Regions from separate parts of the Homo sapiens genome. Here regions 2, 3 and 4 are each linked to region 1. The links are contacts of gene promoters, found by promoter capture Hi-C in blood cells and fetal thymus (Javierre and others, 2016). All regions are on one chromosome and are shown on one strand. Each heading gives the region's core, a stretch centred on a gene start or on the middle of the fragment in contact. The rest is flanking DNA. Distances are from core to core; before and after follow the strand shown.

Evidence for each region. Contacts are between HindIII fragments. The CHiCAGO score rates a contact against its expected background, and 5 or more counts as called.
Region 2: a fragment that was not itself captured here is called in contact with the fragment with the promoter of LRRC70 in region 1 in 2 of 17 cell types (monocytes and M1 macrophages); the score reaches 11.6 in monocytes.
Region 3: a contact is called between a fragment that was not itself captured here and the fragment with the promoter of LRRC70 in region 1, in 4 of 17 cell types (fetal thymus, naive CD4 T cells, naive CD8 T cells and 1 more). The highest score is 8.0, in fetal thymus.
Region 4: a contact is called between a fragment that was not itself captured here and the fragment with the promoter of LRRC70 in region 1, in 1 of 17 cell types (monocytes). The highest score is 5.9, in monocytes.

What each region holds. Positions count from the first base shown.
Region 1 is chr5:62,577,486-62,580,196 of GRCh38, forward strand. It overlaps LRRC70 (leucine rich repeat containing 70), which reads left to right and starts at 1,334. Exons shown (of 2, transcript NM_181506.5): 1 at 1,334-1,450; 2 at 1,916-2,711. The coding sequence starts at 1,954. The region is part of intron 27 of IPO11 (importin 11); the gene reads left to right. It overlaps IPO11-LRRC70 (IPO11-LRRC70 readthrough), which reads left to right and starts at 1,250. Exons shown (of 4, transcript NR_073584.1): 1 at 1,250-1,450. The HindIII fragment of the contact is 1,459 bases long and covers 434-1,892 here.
Region 2 is chr5:62,777,890-62,780,600 of GRCh38, forward strand. No RefSeq gene overlaps it. Among named protein-coding and RNA genes, the nearest start is that of LRRC70, 200 kb to the left of the region's middle. The HindIII fragment of the contact is 2,685 bases long and covers 61-2,711 here.
Region 3 is chr5:62,405,040-62,407,750 of GRCh38, forward strand. No RefSeq gene overlaps it. Among named protein-coding and RNA genes, the nearest start is that of DIMT1, 2.5 kb to the left of the region's middle. The HindIII fragment of the contact is 3,071 bases long and covers 1-2,711 here.
Region 4 is chr5:62,721,421-62,724,131 of GRCh38, forward strand. No RefSeq gene overlaps it. Among named protein-coding and RNA genes, the nearest start is that of LRRC70, 140 kb to the left of the region's middle. The HindIII fragment of the contact is 2,904 bases long and covers 1-2,711 here.

The DNA of each region.
Region 1 (2,711 bases), core at 84-2,583:
AAATTGAAAAATCCATGGGACAAGCTTCATATCACCTTGTATATTATTGGAAGTACTAAACAAAATGGACCTGAGAAACATAGCCCCTACCTCAAATTCATATCATTTCTGTCACTTGTTTTGTTTTCCATTTTTAATGCATAAAATAGCAATAACAGTAACCAGCCATAATGGATAGGTGTAAGAATCATAAGTCATTTTGATAACGATCTGCTATCCAGTATGCATTGCTGAATTTTTAGTCATAGAAAGATAATGCTAGGTATTATTTCAGCTTTCTAATATGGACATAATTCATATTATTTCTAAAGTAATTGTTGATGTGAAATGAAACTGCTTTAATATCAAAGGAGAGTTGTATACAATTATATAACTTGATATTTTAGGAATATTATCAGGCTATTAGTAATATTAATAAAAGTCAGAATTAGAAAGCTTAAGCAACTAGCTTAAAGTTAATGAAAGAAAGTTAATGACTGAACAATATATAATATAAACAATTTATATCCGATTCTTTAAATTCTTGAAAAATGACGTTAAAAAATTCTCCATTTTTGTTCTAAAAGATTCAAACTGATACAGATATATATAGGGCGAAACATCGCCTCTTTTACTCTCCCCAATTTTTCTTGCAAAGATAACCTATGTCAGTAAGTTGGTATGCAGCTTCTTAACATCTTATAACCCAACACAACCAATTAGTGCGTTACTACTAATTAGTAGCTTACTACCAATTAGTACCTCACGTATTAAGTAGTACTCAGTATTTTTTGCAACCAAAAATATTTTGAAAATTTTAAAAAGAGCACTGGAGGATAATATAACAACATTTATGTTCATTCTAAATTTTTTCCCCTATTTTTATTAAAGGAATAAAGCATAAAGTTTAAGTCTTCAATGCGTATTTAACACAACATAAATATTTTATTCATTAAAAAGTTTACAAAAAATTGTATTACTCGATATACATCTTATTTGAACTAGCCTTTTCCATTCAGTAGCTATGTTGTTTGATAGCTAGAGTCTGTTGATTGATATTTGGGTTCTGAATAACTAATGTTTTCAAGTATCCTTTAAAAACTATTATTTTTATATTATAGGAGATATTTCAATGTGTATATTAGGAAAACTCTAACTGCATTCTGAAAAAATAAGTTCCTGAGATTTCCGTTCAGCAATACTTTTGAAACACAGATAAAATTACTTCCTGTCTCTTAGCTTCCTGTATCCATGGCAACCTCTGTTTTACACATTGACTGTAAAGGAACCAATGTGAAGAGTGGTGTTTCCTGAGCAAACGGTGACTTAAAAAAAAAAAAAAAAAAGTGGTGGGGTGGAGGTCAGCAGTGCCACAGAACAAACTGGAGTTAAGAAATGTCGTTCTTCAGATTTAAAAAGAAAACCTTTACTGAATCAGCTGAGTGTTAATAATACGAATTTCCTTTTCTTGGTAAGATTATTTACTTAAATATGAACTTCTAGCTGACATGAAAAATAGTTCTGTGAAAAACTGTAATTTAGAATTTAATTGTTCTGTAGTGAATTTGTATTTTCATAAATTATAATGTTATTTGATATTAGACTTTATGTTGTTAAAGGGACATATTAAATTCAAAGATTCTCATTCCTACATCATTTGTCACCTGTGTTGTAATCAATTGTAATTTTTAAGTTAACTTAGCAAATGTTTCATTAATCTGAACTATTTTGTCAAATAGTGGGTTAATGGCCTGATCATGTTAATAATTCTAGAACGTATTCCATACTCATTATTTTTTGCTATTACCATGGTATGATTTATGATAGTATTATTGGCTGATCCTAATTAAAATAGAATACAGAAGTTATAGTATTATAAAAAAAATTCATTTGATGAAGTTTTCGTGATTTAAAGCTTTACCTTCTCTTTTTATAGCCAATTCTGATCTGAACAGAAAATCCAAGAACAGGGATATGTGTGGATTACAGTTTTCTCTGCCTTGCCTACGACTGTTTCTGGTTGTTACCTGTTATCTTTTATTATTACTCCACAAAGAAATACTTGGATGTTCGTCTGTTTGTCAGCTCTGCACTGGGAGACAAATTAACTGCCGTAACTTAGGCCTTTCGAGTATTCCTAAGAATTTTCCTGAAAGTACAGTTTTTCTGTATCTGACTGGGAATAATATATCTTATATAAATGAAAGTGAATTAACAGGACTTCATTCTCTTGTAGCATTGTATTTGGATAATTCTAACATTCTGTATGTATATCCAAAAGCCTTTGTTCAATTGAGGCATCTATATTTTCTATTTCTAAATAATAATTTCATCAAACGCTTAGATCCTGGAATATTTAAGGGACTTTTAAATCTTCGTAATTTATATTTACAGTATAATCAGGTATCTTTTGTTCCGAGAGGAGTATTTAATGATCTAGTTTCAGTTCAGTACTTAAATCTACAAAGGAATCGCCTCACTGTCCTTGGGAGTGGTACCTTTGTTGGTATGGTTGCTCTTCGGATACTTGATTTATCAAACAATAACATTTTGAGGATATCAGAATCAGGCTTTCAACATCTTGAAAACCTTGCTTGTTTGTATTTAGGAAGTAATAATTTAACAAAAGTACCATCAAATGCCTTTGAAGTACTTAAAAGTCTTAGAAGACTTTCTTTGTCTCATAATCCTATTGAAGCAATACAGCCCTTTGCATTTAAAGGACTTGCCAA
Region 2 (2,711 bases), core at 153-2,652, 200 kb after region 1:
GATGTGGTAGAAAAACAGTGAGGCAGAATAATAAAAAAAAATTTGTGTCCTACTGAAAAAAGCTTACATGAAAAACTTTTAAAAAGAAGGGGTTTACATCTGTGTGTATTTAATGCAGTGGTCACTGTGCAATGCCACATGCAATTGTGTCTCTCTGTGAGCCAGGAGTTTTGCTGAGTATGTGTAAGTGGGTAAACTTAATGGTTATTTTGTAGCATCATTTTTTAAATGTGGTGGGAGAATCTGTGATTTAAGGAGTTTTATGGCGAATCTCATTTTGTGATGTAAATAGTCATTTTTTGAGTATAAATCCAAATTTTTGTATGCTGTTGGCCTAATGAGTTCCCTATCATAGACAATATTAGGTGATGGCAGGGAGGTGGGACTCCAAGGCTTTCATTGTACATGTAAATTAGAATGGCTAATTGAAGCAGATATCCAGATAATTCAGACCAAACTCTCCCTTTTTGTTTGAAATATACTTGGCTGAGTTGTTTAAAAAAACAAAAAACAAAAAACAAATCTGTGCTTCTTTTCTTAACCACGACCTCAGCAATCGTGAGCAAAATGTCTGAGGGAGTGTTCTAACAGGCCTAAGAGGAAGCTCTTAAAAGAGAGACCTGTGGTCATATAGACTTGAGAAACACTTCCTACTTGTCCCTTCTTTTGGAGAGTCATCATGCATTACAGACTATGAAAAGTCCTGCACAAAGGAAAACTTTTGAACTTAGTTTAACCCAGTGTTTTCTAAACTTCTGTGACAGACAACCCTTTATTTACATAAAATTTGCTAACTTACAGTCAAACTGGTGTTCTTTGAAAGTCCATTTTGAGAAATGCTGGTATAAATTAAAGCGGTATTTATATAGCCACAAGTGCTAAGAGTGCTAGTCAGTAATCCTAAGAAGCCAAGGATGATGGGGCATGAATGTCCACAGTTTCATACTGCTGCCACTGGTAGTTTGAGGGATTTGCTAAGGGGATCCTCCAGGCAAACACTGGGTTTATAATGGTTAGGCTTTATCCCCAAAGAGAAAAATAACCACTTAGTGGGCTGAGATTGGCCCATTAGTTTTCCCAGAGTCTCTTTTTCTCCTGAGCATCTCCTCCCACCCCAAATTTTTGCAACTTTTTAAGGGGATGAGAGGGATGGGGTGGAGCATCTTTTCCCAAGTGGAGAGATCCCAAGGGCTCTGTCATGCAACACCGGGAAAACAGAAAACGTTAAGTAGAGACAAAGCCTTGAGCTCCCCCTAGAGGTAAGTATCTGATCATCTCTACTGTGGCAAGACACGAAAATACCATTTGTTTTTTTTTAAGATTTACATATCATGGACATCATTTAAAGTTCGATTTAAGAATCACCTGAATATTTTAGTTAAAAAGTAAAAGAGTAGTTATCTTTTAATATTAGTGCTTATTTGAGTTTAGATATTATTTTATAACTTACATTGTACCTCTCATCAGCGAAATAGTTTGAAACTGTCTCACTGTAAGTGTATATATTCTTTTTTCAAAATATGTACATGTAGTATTGTCATTCTGTATATTAAGTATTAAGAAAGTCTAATTTCCCTACAGCTGTTACAATGTTTACCAATAGCTACTCCTGTCTAAGGGCTATGAACTAGTCGGAATCTGCATGTTTTTGGTCAGAAACAGCCACATAGGGTCAGTACAGATGACCCAATCTGCAAATACTATGTCTTATGGAAACATAACTTTGGTTAATGTGACTTTTATGAGGATTTCGAATGCAAATTCTTCATCCTTATTCCCAAACTGAGCCACTGATGCACATTTATTTATTTATTTATTTCCTTTATTTATTCACCTGTATTTGGTAAACAGCAGGCACTTCTCTCAAATGTTATGACATTAAGGGATGCCTTACGACATTCCCTTAGGGTGCCTATGACATTTGTGATTCTGTTAAGATCACTTTGGCATTATGGTTGGTCTAACTTTGTTCACGAATGTGTTGTGTTCTGTTTTTATGATGTTTATGACCAGAGATGAAAGTAGGCTGTGCTCAGAGAGCTGGTCCCTGTTTAGCCTATCTCCTCCCACATTGTGATTTGGAGAAAATCATTTTCTCCAAAAGTTTTTCAGGGCCTTGGCATTTTATTTATTAATCATGAGATGCTGGCTGGGCGCGGTGGCTGATGCTTGTAATCCCAGCACTTTGGGAGGCCGAGGTGGGCAGATCACCTGAGGTCAGGAGTTTGAGACCAGTCTGACCAACATGGTGAAATCCCGTCTACTAAAAATATGAAATTAGCTAAGCATGGTGGCACACGCCTGTAATCCCAGCTGCTTGGGAGGTTGAAGCAGGAGAATCACTTGAACTGGGGAGGTGGAGGTTACAGTTAGCCGAGATCGTGCCATTACACTCTAGCCTGGGCAAAAAGAGCGAAACTCCGTCTCAAAAAAAATAAATAAAAATAAAAAAAAAATCATGAGACGCTACAATATCCAAAGGTGGACCCACACTCTTACTTATGCTAATGGAAGGGCAGTCCCACGTGGTAGCACATTGAGGCACATGTATCCTCAGGCGTGTGGGGAAGGTGCCGACGGGTCAGCAAAGTCACCATATGATTATAGCACGCCTCCCTAAAGGTTCATATTTCTCAGAGATGTAGGAGGAGGCCGTATTGTTTTGACATTAAAACCAAGACAAATTTGCTTGGGAGCAAATTAAAAAGACA
Region 3 (2,711 bases), core at 56-2,555, 170 kb before region 1:
TGGTCGTTGTGACAGGACAGTGTACCTGACTATAAACTCCGTGTGTACCAGGGCCATAATATCCACATCTGTTTTGCCAGCCAGTGTAATGGCTCTTTTAAATTTTTCTGTGTGTATTCTGTTTGGTTGAAGAAATAGCTTCTTCCTGTCATTACTAAAGCTAACTCTCTTTTGAGCAATTCATTGTGTACATTCCCAAACCTTGGTCTTAGGCCCTTCTTTCTTTGATGTAGTTCTAAGTCAGAAAAAAAATCTCGTATACCCTAGTAGCATCTTCAAGTATATGTTTCATTTCATCAATCATTGTTATTCCACAATTCTAAAGAGTACACTGTGCTAGGCACTTCCAAATGTTAATAGGATGGACATGGCCTGGAGAGGTGGCTCATGCCTGTAATCCCAGCACTTTGAGAGGCCAAGGCGAGCGGATCACTTGAGCTGAGAAGTTTGAGATCAACCTGGGCAACAAAGTGAGACCCCGTCTCTACAAAAAATACAAAAATTAGCCAGGCGTGGTGGTGCAGGCCTGTAGTCTCAGCTACTCGGGAAGCTGAGGTGGGAGCCTCACTTGAGCCCGAGAATTTGTAGTGAGCCAAGATTGCACCAACCTGGGCGACAGCATGATACCCTGTTTAAAAAAAAAAAATTAACATGACACAAAACCCTGTGTGTGATTTGTTATTGTTGTTGTTGTTGGGTTTTTTGGTTTTGTTTTTTTGAGACGGTCTCACTCTGTCACCCAGGCTGGAGTGCAGCGGCATGATCTCAGCTCACTGCAACCTCCGCCTGCCGGGCTCAAGCGATGCTCTCACCTCAGCCTCCCGAGTAGCTGAGACGACAGACATGAATCATCTTGTCCAGCTAATTTTTGTAATTTTTGTAGAGGCGGGGTCTCACTTTGTTCCCCAGGCTGATCTCAAACTTCTCAGCTCAAGTGATCTGCCTGCTTTGGCCTCTAGGTTGCATTTCTTCTGTGAAATAAAAGGCAAGTTTTTCTGTAGAGAAGGAGCTGTGGAGGTGGTAGGACAAGGGGCATGAGTGCGGAGAAGGTTTGAAGATCCTTTATGCGCAATGGGAGAGGAAGATTAGAGGGAACTCAAGAAGACATGGCATGTCTTCCAGCTAAATGTGGAGCCCAGTATCTCCAATGTGTACTGCTGTGTAACCACAGCCTGGAGACAAGAGCAGAGAAGGCAAAATTGTTCTTTTGATTCATCAATGAATGACCACTATTGCTCCCTAGAATAGCATTGTAGGCCTTTCAAATTAAGTTCCTATTTACCTTACTTATTTACTTCCCAACGTTATCAAGTTCCTTTTTCTTCCTTAAACATCTTTATACCTCGGCTTTGTGAGTGCTCTTCCTTTTGCATTCTCGACCTTCCCCTGGCTAACTTTTGTTTGCTGTTAAAGACACAACTCATATATATAATATAAATATATATATTTAAATATAAATATAAACATATATAAATATAAATATATATATATATATATATTTTAAGATAGAGCCTTGCTCTGTCACCCAGGCTGCAGTGCAGTGCCATGATCTTGGCTCACTGCAACCTCAGCCTCCCAGATTCAAGCTATTCTCATGCCTCAGCCTCTCAAGTAGCTGGGATTGCAGGCGTGCACCACCACCACGCTGGCTAATTTTTTTTTTTTTTTTTGTATTTTTAGTAGAGATGGGTTTTCACCATGTTGCCCATGCTGGTCTTGAACTGGCCTCAAGTGGTCTGCCCGCCTTGCCCTCCCAAAGTGCAGGGATTACAGGCATGAGTTACCGTGCCTGGCTTCAAATGTTATATTTTTAAAATAGTGGCCCAGGCTGGGTTGCAGTGAGGCAGACGTTGCAGTGAGTTGAGTTTGCTCCACTGCACTCCAGCCTAGGTGACAGAATAAGACTCCGTCTCAAAGAAAGAAAGAAAAGAGGGAGGGAGGGAGCGAAGGAAGGAAAGGAAGAAGGAAGGAAGGAAAGGAAGAAGGAAGGAAGGAAGGAAGGAAGGAAGGAAGGAAGGAAGGAAGGAAGGAAGGAAGGAAGGAATCCTGAATACTATAAACAAGATTCTTCTATGAATGTATTCTTTAGAATGATCTAAATATGTGGCTGGGCATGGTGACTCACGCCTATAATCCCAGCACTTTGGGAGGCCAAGGCGGGTGGATCATTTGAGGTCAGGAGTTCGAAACCAGCCTGGTCAACATAGTGAAACCCTGTCTCTACTAAAAATACAAACATTAGCTGGGTATGGTGGTGTGCACCTGTAATCCCAGCTACTCTGGAGGCTGAGGCAGGAGGCAGAGGTTGCGGTGAGCTGAGATTGCGCCACTGCACTCCAGTCTGGGCAACAGAGTGAGACCCTGTCTCAAAAACAAAAACAAACAAACAAAAAAGAATGATCTAAATATTTTTAGATAATCATAAAGACTATGTTAGATTAATACAATTATTTAAAGAAGATGATTATGGTCTCTGTTTAATACCAGCATAGGTGTAAACCTTGTCAGTGAATATTACATAATTGATACCTCTCAAAAACATTTGTCAGATAAATGTTTCCACATCATTACCATTGTTAAAAGAGAAACTAAGGCACAGTAAAATCTTAAAATGTTTATTTGAGCAGACAGTGATTCATGAATCAGTTTGGGACTCTGTTAAAGGCGCACCAAAGAAAGGCTTTTATAGGGTGAATGTGGAAGCATGGCAA
Region 4 (2,711 bases), core at 134-2,633, 140 kb after region 1:
GTGAGACGCACAGAGGTTAAATAACTTGCTCCAAGCCACATAGCTAGTAAGTGGCAGAGCTTAGATGCAACCCCAGGGAGTTTGGTTACAAGAAATTTCTTCCTTACTCTTCCACTGTGCTGTAAGTGCAAGAATTAGGTCAATGGACTGGAAGGAAAGAGAAGTCTCCAGGGACAAGCGTCTGTAAAGTCTAGGACATTTTAGGGAGCATGGACATGGAGTGGGCTGAAGATTTGATATGAGGCTTGGAGTATTTTGGGATTATGACAAATTCTAGAAGGCAGTTGTGGATGTGGGTAGCTGAAATGAAAGGAATTAAAGGTCATTGAAATTCAGGGGTCTGGAAAGTCTGAGGCCAGGTGTTGGCTGTGACACAGAGCACTGAGGTCATCTATAATAGAAGAGTGGAAGGACTTAGGGTAGAGAGGAAGAGAGGAAACCAGATGCCAGAGTCTGGCAAATGAAGGGGAAGAACTAGGAGGTCAGTAGGCAATGATGAGCAGGAGAAGATGGCGCTTCAAAGAAGGTGGGCATGTTATAAGCGTAATTGGAAATATCATTGATGAACAAGAACAATGCAATACCTCCATTTGATTCTGAAGTTACCTGGGCCATAGGAGAAGGAGCAGCCTCTCAGGGGGATGCTGTAAGTAGAACTGAATTTTAAATTTTAATTAATTTAAATTTTAAAATGGATACTGATTTGGTTATTGGAAAACGTTTAAGCATATTTGGAACAACTTGTGTATTGGAATTTACTTTTCGATTGTAAAGTTTATGAAACCTAGATACCACCCAAGGACTTCTAATGAAAATATAAGCATTCAAATTGAGATGTCCCAGCAGTGTAAAATATACACCGGATTCCAAAGAGGTAGTAGAAGAAAAGAAGGTAAAATATTTCATTCATAATTTTCTTGTCTTGATTACATATTGATGTTTGGGTATATTGAGTTAGAGAAGACGTTATTAAAGTTACTCCCACCCATTTCTTTTTACTTTTTAAATGTGGCTACTAGAAAATTTAAACTTACAGATGGGGCTTACGTCGTATTTCTATTGGGCAGTGCTATTGAGACCAAGGAAGACAGTGATGGGCACTGTACTGGAACTGGCCGCCTTGAGGTCTGAAGTGGAACTTCGTGTCATCATGAGGAAGAGAGAGCCCATGCACGCTGCAGCAGTGTCTATGATGGCAGTGTTTCAGGTGTCATGAAGTCTAGACATAGCGGCAGATGCGTGATGGAGTAGCTGGAATCAGGAGAAGTTATGGACATTTTGTTTACGGGAGTCATTCATATATGCTAATTGCCCATCTTCTAAGTAGAGAAGTATTTGAGAAAACTACTGGAAACAAAACTAAAGGAGTGACTTAGATAATTGGGGAGAGGAAGGATCCAACTCATGAAGGAAGAGGAAGGAGAGAGTAGCAGAGTGAGTGAGGGTTTTAGGTGTGCTCAGGTGTGTCAAAGTCCCTTGTACCAATCTTGGAAGATGCCAAAGTTTGAAAAGACAGACAATACTGTCAAAGATTAGAGAAAGTCATTAGTAGGCTAGACAGTCACACAAAGGGTAAGAACATAGGTTATTAAAGATGAGAGCTACAGGCATCCTTTCAGCTCTGGAAAAAGTATTACTCTTAAAAATGAGAATAGAAATTCTTGGCTTCCGCTAAGTGAAACAATTCTTATCATGGATAGCCTCTAGAGGTAGCATAGACCTCACCTTTTCTAACAGTATTTCCCTCTGGATAGATAGCAGTGTTAGTAAGAACTTTGAAGGTCAGCTTGTGTATATGAATCTCAAGATAAATTGCTCTGATGAATACTTGGGTATATATGTATGCATCTCACTCTCACCTATCTTCCATCGCCTGCCATCTTCCACTTCATGGCATAACATGATTGACATAATGAAGGCTTGTCAGTTTATTGCCCTCCCTGTGCAGCCAAATGCCTAATACGAGGCCACCAAAAGACGGTGGCTATCATGGAGGCTCAAAAGTGGCTAATTTTATATTGTCATTCGCAAGGAATGATGCAAGGATGCCCTGAGGTGAACTGTGTTAGCTTTGGGACTTTTCTGGCCTTAAGTTCCCTGTTCTGCTCCCCAATCAAACTTTATCTTTCTCTGGAGGAATGCTTTTAGGTAATGAAACAAAATAATTTGCTTTATGTGGCCGTGCTATTTGTCAACATCTTCTAGTAGCATTAAACACAATGCTCTATCATTCCTGCTTTCAAAAAGAGGACTTCTAGGACTCACCTCAATCAGGTGCTCAAAAGAGAGGGTTTCCATCTTGTTGGTGGTTGGAGTCAGGTGAAGATGTTTCTGGTCAGGCCATCTCTTAGCCATGCCTATCAACTCAGAATGACATGAGAACTCCCTCCCAGCTGCTCCTGCAGATCCAAATGCCCCCTAAGATAGCCCTGATTAGGAACAAGAGAAGCAGAAGGAGCAAAGGCCATGAGATCGGAGTCCCAAACCTTTTCCATTTATAAGCATCTCTGTGGACTGCATCAGCTGTCTGGCTGCCCCATTCTTTGGCACCTCATTATGTGGAATCAGAAGACACAGAACCCCAGTGGATAATTGCTTTGAGATAACATCTGTTGGCAATGACTTTGGTTCAGGCAGAGCTTAGCTTCTACATTATTAGTCTTTCTTCTTAGTACATTTTTAGGCTACAAACAAATTTCCCTTGACAGTCA